2 separate regions of the Homo sapiens genome follow, and region 2 is linked to region 1. Evidence: promoter capture Hi-C in 16 types of primary human blood cells and fetal thymus (Javierre and others, 2016). All regions are on one chromosome and are shown on one strand. The core of a region is centred on a gene start or on the middle of the fragment in contact, and the rest is flanking DNA. Distances in the headings are between cores, read along the strand shown.

What was found. The method cuts DNA at HindIII sites, captures the fragments that hold promoters and counts their contacts. A CHiCAGO score of 5 or more calls a contact.
Region 2: a contact is called between the fragment with the promoter of PYDC1 here and a fragment that was not itself captured in region 1, in 2 of 17 cell types (monocytes and M0 macrophages). The highest score is 6.2, in monocytes.

What each region holds. Positions count from the first base shown.
Region 1 is chr16:31,172,714-31,177,546 of GRCh38, forward strand. It overlaps the pseudogene NDUFA3P6. Among named protein-coding and RNA genes, the nearest start is that of FUS, 5.0 kb to the right of the region's middle. The HindIII fragment of the contact is 8,665 bases long and covers 1-4,833 here.
Region 2 is chr16:31,213,967-31,218,457 of GRCh38, forward strand. PYDC1 (pyrin domain containing 1) reads right to left here and starts at 3,169. Exons shown (of 2, transcript NM_152901.4): 1 at 2,777-3,169; 2 at 1,996-2,191. The coding sequence starts at 3,062. The coding sequence ends at 2,793. TRIM72 (tripartite motif containing 72) reads left to right here and starts at 153. Exons shown (of 7, transcript NM_001008274.4): 1 at 153-331; 2 at 766-1,162. The coding sequence starts at 773. RefSeq lists enhancers at 1-559, 560-1,474, 2,390-3,304. The HindIII fragment of the contact is 8,417 bases long and covers 2,415-4,491 here.

The sequences.
Region 1 (4,833 bases), core at 1,819-4,318:
CTTTTGAACCCAAGAGATTGAGGCTGCAGTGAGCAGAGATTGTACCACTGTACTCCAGCCTGGGCGACAGGGCGAGACCCTATCTCAAAAAAAAAAAAAAATAGCTGGGTGCGGTGGGTTACGCCTGAGTCCCAGCACTTTGGGAGGCTGAGGCGGGTGGATCACAAGGTCAGGAGATCGAGACCATCCTGGCTAACACAGTGAAACCCCGTCTCTACTTAAAATACAAAAAAAAAATTAGCCGGGCATGGTGGTGGGCGCCTGTAGTCCCAGCTACTTGGGAGGCTGAGGCAGGAGAATGGCGTGAACCTGGGAGGCGGAGCTTGCAGTGAGCCGAGATTGCACTACTGCAGTCCAGCCTGGGCGACAGAGCGAGGCTCCATCTCAAAAAAAAAAAAAGTCAACTCCTCAGTGAAGGCTGACCCACCCTACTCACTGCAAAAGTAATCACTCTTCCCCTGTGGCAGGTCTTACCCTGTATAATACCCTCCTCAGCTACCATGCTGTGGTGCATTGTAGGAGTCAGTTTGCTTTTAAATTGGTCATTATATGCACATAGTGAAAAATTAAAATATAAAAGGATCTAGGAAAAGTGAATTTCCTTCAATCCTTGACCCCAAGTTCCCCAGATTCCTTCCTCAGAAATAGGCTATGACTTGTTTTTCTTCTTCCAGAGATATTTTATGCATAAGTAAACACATATATATATATATCCCTAACTGTTCTCCTTCTCTTTTTCTTTTTTCTTTTTTTTTTTTGTGACAGGGTCTCACTCTGCTGTTCAGGCTGGAGTACAGTGGCACAGTCATAGCTCACTGCAGCCTTGACCTCTTGGATAGTACCCCACCCCCCTGCCCCAGACTCAGCCTCCCAAGTAGCTGGGACCACAGTCACACACCACCAAACCCAGATCATTTTTAATTTTTTTGTAGAGACAGGGTCTCACTATGTTATTAAATGATCCTCCTGCCTCGGCCTCCCAAAGTGCTGGCATTACAGGAATGAACCACTGAGCCTGGCCCTCTTTCTTTTTTAGAAACCCAAATAGAGGCCGGGCACAGTGGCTCACGCCTGTAATCCCAGCAATTTGGGAGGCTGAGGCGGGTGGATCACGAGGTCAGGACATTGGGACCATCCTGACAAACATGGTGAAACCCTATCTCTACTAAAAATAAAAATACAAAAAAATTAGCTAAGCGTGGTGGCGGGCGCCTGTAGTCCCAGCTACTCTGGAGGCTGAGGCAGGAGAATCGCTTGAACCCGGGAGGCGTAGCTTGCAGTGAGCCGAGATCGTGCCACTGCACTCCAGCCTGGGTGATAGAGCGAGACTACGTCTCAAAAAAAAAAAAAAAACAAAAACCCAAATAGAGGCTGGGCATGGTGGTGCAGGCCTGTAGTCCCAGATGCTGGTAAGGCCAAATTTGGAGGATTGCTTGAACCCAGGAATTTGAGGCTGCAGTGAGCTTTGATTGCACCACTGCACTCCAGCCTGGGTGACAGATTGAGATCCTAACTCAAAAGAAAAAAAAAAGGAGGCCAGGCATGGTGGCTCACGCCTGTAATCCCAGCGCTTGGGAGGCCAAGGCAGGCAGATCATGAGGTCAGGAGTTCGAGATCAGCCTGGCCAACATGGTGAAACCCCATCTCTACTAAACGTACAAAAATTAGTTGGGCGTAGGGGCACGTGCCTATAATCCCAGCTACTCGGGAGCCTGAGGCAGGAGAATTGCTTGAACCTGGGAGGCGGAGGTTGCAGTGAGCCGAGATCGCGCCACTGCACTCCAGCCTGGGTGACAGAGCAAGACTCAATCTCAAAAAAAAAAAAAAAGGCCGCTGTCATCACCACCGAGACCAAGAAGGCCACGAGACTCAGCACCTTCCTCAAGATTTCCTGGGCCAAGGAGCCAGTGCTGGTCTTGTCCTCTGTCATCCGGAGCCTCACTGTAATTCTACCCCCACTTAGTCCCCACACCAAGTACTCCATCATGATCAACGAGGCAAGGCCCTACAACTACCCAGTGCCTGTCTGCAATGATGGGAACATGCCCGATGTGCCCAGCCACCCCCAGGACCCCCAAGGCCCCAGTTTGGAGTGGCTGAAGAAATTGTGAGCACCTCCACTGCCAAAGGAGGACCCTCCCATGGCTCCCACTAGAAATGTGAAAACCAACCTCTCCCTGCTCAAAAAAAAAAGAAAAGAAAAAGAAAAATTGCATTAAATATTTGATCTAGGCCAGGCGCAGTGGCTCATGCCTGTAACTGTAACTCTAGCACTTTGGGAGGCCGAGGCAGGAAGATTGCTTGAGGCCAGGGGTTCAAGACAAAACTGGCCAACAAAATGAGACCTTGTCTTTAAAAAATAAATTCTGGGGCTGGGCGCAGTGGCTCATGCTTGTAACAGCACTTTGGGAGGCCGAGGAGGGGTGGATCACGAGGTCAGGTGTTTGAGACCAGCCTGGCCAACATAGTGAAACCCCGTCTCTACTAAAAAAAAATACAAAAAATTAGCCAGGCGTGGTGGCGGGTGCCTGTAATCCCAGCTACTTGGAGGCTGAGGCAGGAGAATCGCTTGAACCTGGGAGGCAGATATTGCAGTGAGCCGAGATCGCGCCATTGCACTCCAGCCCAGGCAACAGTGCGAGACTCCATCTCAAACAAATATATATAAATATAAATAAATATATATATATATGTAACTTCCTGGCACGATGGCACAGACCTGTAATCCCAGCACTTTGGGAGGCCGAGGCGCGTGGATCAGGAGGTCAGGAATTCAAGACCAGCCTGGCCAAGATGGTGAAACCCTGTTTCTACTAAAAATACAAAAAATTAGCCAGGCGTAATGGTGGGAGCTTGTAATCCCAGATACTCGGGAGGCTGAGGCAGAGAACTGCAAACTCCGGAGGCGGAGGTTGCAGTGAGCTGAGATTGTGCCACTGCACTCCAGCCTGGGTGACAGAGGGAGACTCTGTCTCAAAAAAACAAACAAAAAAATTAAATAAATAAATTAAAACTAACTAACTAAATAAATATCTGGATATCTGAGCTGGGTGCAGTGGCTCATGCCTCTAATCCCAGCACTTGGGAAAGCAAGGCAGGCAGATCATTTGAGGTCAGGAGTTCGAGACCAGCCTGGCCAACATAGGGAAACCTCATCTCTACTAAAAAAATTAGTTGGGTGTGGTGGTGCACATCTGTAATCCCAGGTACTCAGGAGGCTGAGGCAGGAGAATTGCTGGAACCTGGGAAGTAGAGGTTGCAGTCAGCTGAGATTGCAGCACTGCTCTCCAGCCTGGGTGACAGAGTGAGACTCTGTCTCAAAAAAAAATCAATATCTGATATACGTGTTTATTTTTTTATTGAGATGGAGTCTTGCTCTGTCGCCCAGGCTGGAGTGCAATGGCACAATCTCTGCTCACCGCAACCTCTGCCTCCCTGGCTCAAGCAATTCTCCTGCCTCAACCTCCCGAGTAGCTGGGACTACAGATGCGCGCCACCATGCCCGGCCAATTTCTGTATCTCTAGTAGAGATGGGGTTTCACCAGGTCGGTCAGGCTGGTCTCGAACTCCTGACCTCATGATCTGCCCACCTCAGCCTCCCAAAGTGCTGGGATTACAGGTGTGAGCGAACGCATCTGGCCCAATATCTGATATACATGTTAATTGAAACTGGGTGTGGTGGTCACACCTTTAATCACAGCACTTTGGGAGGATTCCCTTGAGCCTAGGAGTTCAAGACCAGCCTGGGCAACATAGCAAGACCCTGTCTCAAAAAAGAAAAATTTAACATTGACTTTCCTGTCAGAGATAGGAAGTAAATAAGACATTTATGGTGAACTTAAAGCACATATGGCAGCTAAAGGTGACAGTGTCTCACTCCAGCTGACCCTTGCCCTATGGAAGTGGGCCTGGAATGGCCCACTATTTTTAGTGTTGGCAACTAGTTAAAAAAATTAAAACATTCGAGGCAGGTGGATCACTTGAGATCAGGAGTTCGAGAACAGCCTGGGCAATATGGTGAAACCCCGTCTCTACTAAAAATAGGAAAATTAGCTGGACATGGTGATGCATGCCTGTAATCTCAGCTACTCGGGAGGCTGCAGCACAAGAATTGCTTGAACCCGGGAGGCAGAGGTTGCAGTGAGCTGAGATCACGTCACTGCACTCCAGCCTGGGTGACAGAGTGAGACTCCATCTCAAAAAAAAAAAAAAAAGAAAGAAAGAAATGGCCATTTGATTTAGTCTTTCAGAGTCACATATTTTTTTTTTTTTGAGGCCGAGTCTCATCTGCCACCATGCCCAGCCCAGAGTCACAGCTGGAGCCTGAACTCTGCCTCAGTGTCTTCCCCACTTGTGCCTTTGTCTTCGCGGTTCTGCCTATTATAGCCTTTCCTCCCTTGCTGCTTGGCAAACTTCTACTTATCCAGTAAGCCTTGGCTTCAGGGTTACCATCTCTCTTTAGTGTTCTGTGGTTGTCCACCTGATGGATGACTTACTCTGCTGGCAGGGTTTCCAGTCTTTGATTCCATGTGATGGCACTTACTACACTCAAGTACACTTTGTGGTCTGTGTGTCTCACCCACATTCACCCACTGGCTGGTCCTGTGGTTTAGGAACTGAGCTTTTTTTTATCCATATCCATCCAGTCGGCCCCATGATTGGAACATACTATGCAGTGCTCAGGCAATGTTTGCTGAAGCGCAGGGGTTAAGAGCAGGCTACCTGGCTTGGGAACCCAGCTTTGCCACTTCCTGTGTAGCTTCAGCATAACTTTCCGTCTTTCTTTTTTTTTAGAGACAGAGTCTTGCTCTACTCTATCATCCAGGCTGCAGT
Region 2 (4,491 bases), core at 1,919-4,418, 41 kb after region 1:
CAAGACAGGTGGCCCTGTCATGTGATGTGTGCCCAGGGACTACTCAGCCCTCACTTTTAGAACGGTTTCCGGAAGTGATGGGAGGGATTGGGCAGGGCAGCTAAATATAGTCCTGGGGCCATGGCTCAGTCTGGGAGGGTCTTCCGCTGAGCACTGTGTGCCCATCACGCGTGGTGTCCACTGCCAGCTGCCCCTGTGAGTCCCTGTCCTTGCTTGGAGCCTGCTGCTTGTCTCAGATCCTTGGACCCAGCCCTGACCCCAGTCCAGCTAAGCTCAACCCTGACCGGTCCTCCTTCGAGACTCTTTCAGCCTAAGATCTCCAACCAGACCTGTGAGTCCCGTGGGCTGGAGAGAGGGGGAGGGGAGGTCTGGGTATCTTGGTAAAGTGAGGGAGGGGAGTCTCGGAGTGGGGGCTCTGGAGAATTTGGGTCCGGGACTAAGGTCAGAGGCTGAGGCCTGGGGCTAAGGCGAGGGCAAGGACAGTGGGCTAGAATCTGGGCTTGTGTTCAGGAACTGGGGTTGACTGATAGGGCATATTTTTGGGGTTGGAGCTGAGAATTGCAGTGGAGGCTGCTTTTGGGCCTGAGACCGAGTTCCTCTTTCCCCTTGGCCGTCAGAGTCCCATCCAGTGTAGGATGTGAGGTCTTTACAGGCTGGGGCTTCTCCCTGCGGGGCGGCGGGCCCGGCCTGGGCTAGGGCTGGGCCAGGGCTGGGCCGGGAGCGCGGCGCCGCGGGGTCCCCCTAACCTACTCCTCCTCCACCCAGGCCCGCCATGTCGGCTGCGCCCGGCCTCCTGCACCAGGAGCTGTCCTGCCCGCTGTGCCTGCAGCTGTTCGACGCGCCCGTGACAGCCGAGTGCGGCCACAGTTTCTGCCGCGCCTGCCTAGGCCGCGTGGCCGGGGAGCCGGCGGCGGATGGCACCGTTCTCTGCCCCTGCTGCCAGGCCCCCACGCGGCCGCAGGCACTCAGCACCAACCTGCAGCTGGCGCGCCTGGTGGAGGGGCTGGCCCAGGTGCCGCAGGGCCACTGCGAGGAGCACCTGGACCCGCTGAGCATCTACTGCGAGCAGGACCGCGCGCTGGTGTGCGGAGTGTGCGCCTCACTCGGCTCGCACCGCGGTCATCGCCTCCTGCCTGCCGCCGAGGCCCACGCACGCCTCAAGGTGCGGGATCCGCGCGCATCGTGGTCGGAGGGGCTGTTCGGTGGCACGGGGCCGATGGGGAGGTCGCTGCAGTGATTTGGATTCTGAGTCTCTAGAGAGGCTCACGAGCTCCTGGAGTTGCGGGGGGCGGGGGCGGGGCGAAGCAGCCAGGAAAGAGGGTCTGAGGAGCTTAAGGCGGGGCTGGCAGAGGAAAGCCGCGCAGGGATGGAGCCTGGCGATAAGGGCGCTGAGCAAACGTAGGTTTCCCGGCCTTAGTCCCTAGAGGAAACTGGAGATGGGCGGGCGGAGCCCCAGGGCGGGTCTGATGGGCCGGGCGGAGCCAGGCGGAGCAGGGACTGACCAGCCCCTGCGGCCCACGCTCGCATTCCTGCACCCGGTGGGCCGTTCGGGCTGGCTCCCTGCTCGGCGCTGGCCCACTTTGGACTGGAGGCGCGGCGTTCGGGACCGAGCCAGGCGGCCGGGGCAGGGTTGTCCCCTTGTGCTCAGCGGAGGCCCACGCACCCCTGAAGCTGCGGAACTTGGGCTGGCCTGACGGTCCCCAGGCGGGGCCTCACCAGAAGGGAGACTGTAAGGGCTAGGCAGCCGGGATCTGCACTTATGTGTGCGGGCCCAGGGTGGCACCGAGAGCCCCGTCCAGGATGTTTTTCTGGGTGGAGCTGGAAGTCCCGAAAGCCTTGGGAGCCCACACGCAGTTGTGCGCGTCCCGAAGTACCCAGCAGAGACACCCAGACAGAGGCAAATAGAGACGAACGCACACTGGCTGGTGCGTGTCATCCGTGTGGCAAAAGCACACACGTATAGCTACCGGCGGGCACGTGTGCGCGCAGCCCCAGTAAAGTCTGCCATGAATATTTATTGGGCAGTGGAAGAATAAATGACAGGTGCAGGGGCTGGAGGAGGCGGGGTCTGGAGGCACGGAGGCGTCCTTGGTCCCCGAGGTGGAGACACTGCTGTTGTCTTACGCGACTGGTGCGCGCGTGGGGCTGGCTTCACAGGCGTTGCATTACTCCTTTTGCCTTGACCCGCCTCCTAGAAGGGGTAGACCACCGTCCTTTCGTTGGTATTCGAGGCCCCCAGACTTCCCAGGGACCCAGCCTCTCAGTCCTGCCTGGCCCAGTTCAGCCCAGTCCTAGCTGGTGGTCTCCTAGCTCAGGGCAGGAGCCTCCTCCCGGGACCCCTCCCATCCCAGCACACCTGTGCTTAAGACCCCAACCTCAGGGCAACCCGCTCGGATCCCCTTCCATGCTGTGGAAGCTTTGTTCTTTTGCTCTTTGCAATAAATCTTGCTGCCGCTAAAAAAAAAACAAAAAACAAACAAACAAAAAAAACCCAACCTCGCCCAACCTTGCCCGTCTTTATCTGCGAAGAAAGCACAGAACCCATGAAACGGAACAGGGCCCAGGCAGCCCAGGAGCCTGGAAGGGGGCAGTGGGGCGAGATGCAGCCCACCAGGGTTCGCGGCAGCCCAGCCCTTCGCCCCCGGGAGGGGCTGGCCGGAGGTCTGAGGGAGGACCCCAGGAGGGACCCTGAAGGAGGGGAACAGGAAGGCTCTGGGCGGGACCTGACGCGTGGGTCCTTGGCGAGGAAGCGGGGTTGGGTCCCGAGATCACGTACCAGCTCAGAGTGGCCCTCACGCAGCCCGCTGCAGCCGTGCGGCCTCCTCCAACATGCGCATGTCGCGCAGCACGGCCACGACGAGCTCGGCTGCGTAGTCCTCGTAGTAGGAGGCGACCAGCTTGTCGGTGAGGTCCACGATATCTAGCTGCCCGAGCGCGCCCCGCGGGATGCGCTCAAAGCCCTCGCGCAGCGGCACCGTCCCCAGCTTCATCTTGAACTTCTTGAGCTCCTCCGGTGTCAGGTTCTCCAGCACCTTCAGGATGGCCTCGCGCTTCGTTCCCATGGCTCAGCCCTGCGCCTCTGAGCCTCCGAGGGCCTGGAGCCATCAGGTCCTACCTTTCCTGCAGCAGGTGGAGCTGCCGCCCCCGGGGATGTCCCGGGAAGGAGACTGATCTGGCAGCTCCTATTCAACCCTGTGGCTCCTGCTGGGAGGGGACTCTGCAAACACCGCCTAGAGGGTCCCCCAGTTTCCCCTGGGAGAGTGGGGGCGCCAAATTGTTGAGGTGGGGATTGCTGTTCCCAATCTGCAGAGGAGGAAACAGGTTGCAAGTCATTGAGGCAGGAATGGAACTGATTCCATGGTCAGGCACCTCCCAGCAAAGAAGTGGCTTTGTAGCCTGGCATGGTTGCTCATGCTTGTAGTGCCAGCTACTCGGGAGGCTGAAGCAAAAGGATTGCTTGAGCCTAGGAGTTCGAGTTGTGATTCTGCCACTGCACTCCAGCCTAGGCAATCCTGTCTCCAAAAAAAAAAAAAAAAAAAAAAAAAATGGCTTTGGCAGGAGTATTGGGAGCTCTCCTATATTTGCATATTTGCATTTGAGGTCTTGGGTAAGATCTAGACCACAGAATGGTTGGTCTGTGCAGGGGACATTTTTTTTTTTTTTTTTGAAATGCAGTCTTGCTCTGTCGCCCAGGCTAGAGTGCAGTGGCACATTCTTGGCTCACTGCAACCTCCGCCTCCCTGGTTCAAGTGATTCTCCTGCCTCAGCCTCCCGAGTAGCTGGGATTACAGGCACTTGCCACAGCGCCCAGGTAATTTTTGTATTTTTAGTAGAAATGGGGTTTCACTATCTTGGTCTGGCTGGCCTTGAACTCCTGACCTCGTGATCCACCCGCCCTGGCCTCCCAAAGTGCTGGGATTACAGGTGTGAGCCACCACGCCCGGCCAGCAGGGGACATTTTAATTAAATTTCCTGCCCCCTACTCCAAGCCCATGTGTGTACAGGCAGGCTGACTTGGTGGTCAGGCTGACAGGCTGACTGAGGCTGATGTTCTGCTTTTAAGTAAGAGAGGAAGCCCAGGAGTAGGGGTAGGTTGCCTTTCTTCTTTCATATATCCTTCATGTACCCCCTGAGGTCTGTTGTGTGCCAAGCTCTGTGCCTGCCTGTCTGGTGGGAGAGACCAAACCACACTGATGTTTGTCATCCTCGCAAAGACCTGTGCTATGGGGCTGACTGCTGAGCAGAGGGGATCAGGGAAGGCAAGGCCAGGGAGGGGTCAACAAAACAGACAAGGGGCTGGGGGTGTGGCGGTTCATGCCTGTAATCCCAGCATGCTGGGAGGCTGAGGTGGGAGGATTGCTTGAGGCCAGGAGTTGGAGACCAGTCTGGGCAATATAGTGAGATTGTCTCTACAAAAATATTTTAAAAAATCATGGCCAGGAGTGGTGGCTCATGTCTAATCCCAGCACTTCGGGAGGCTGACGTGGGTGG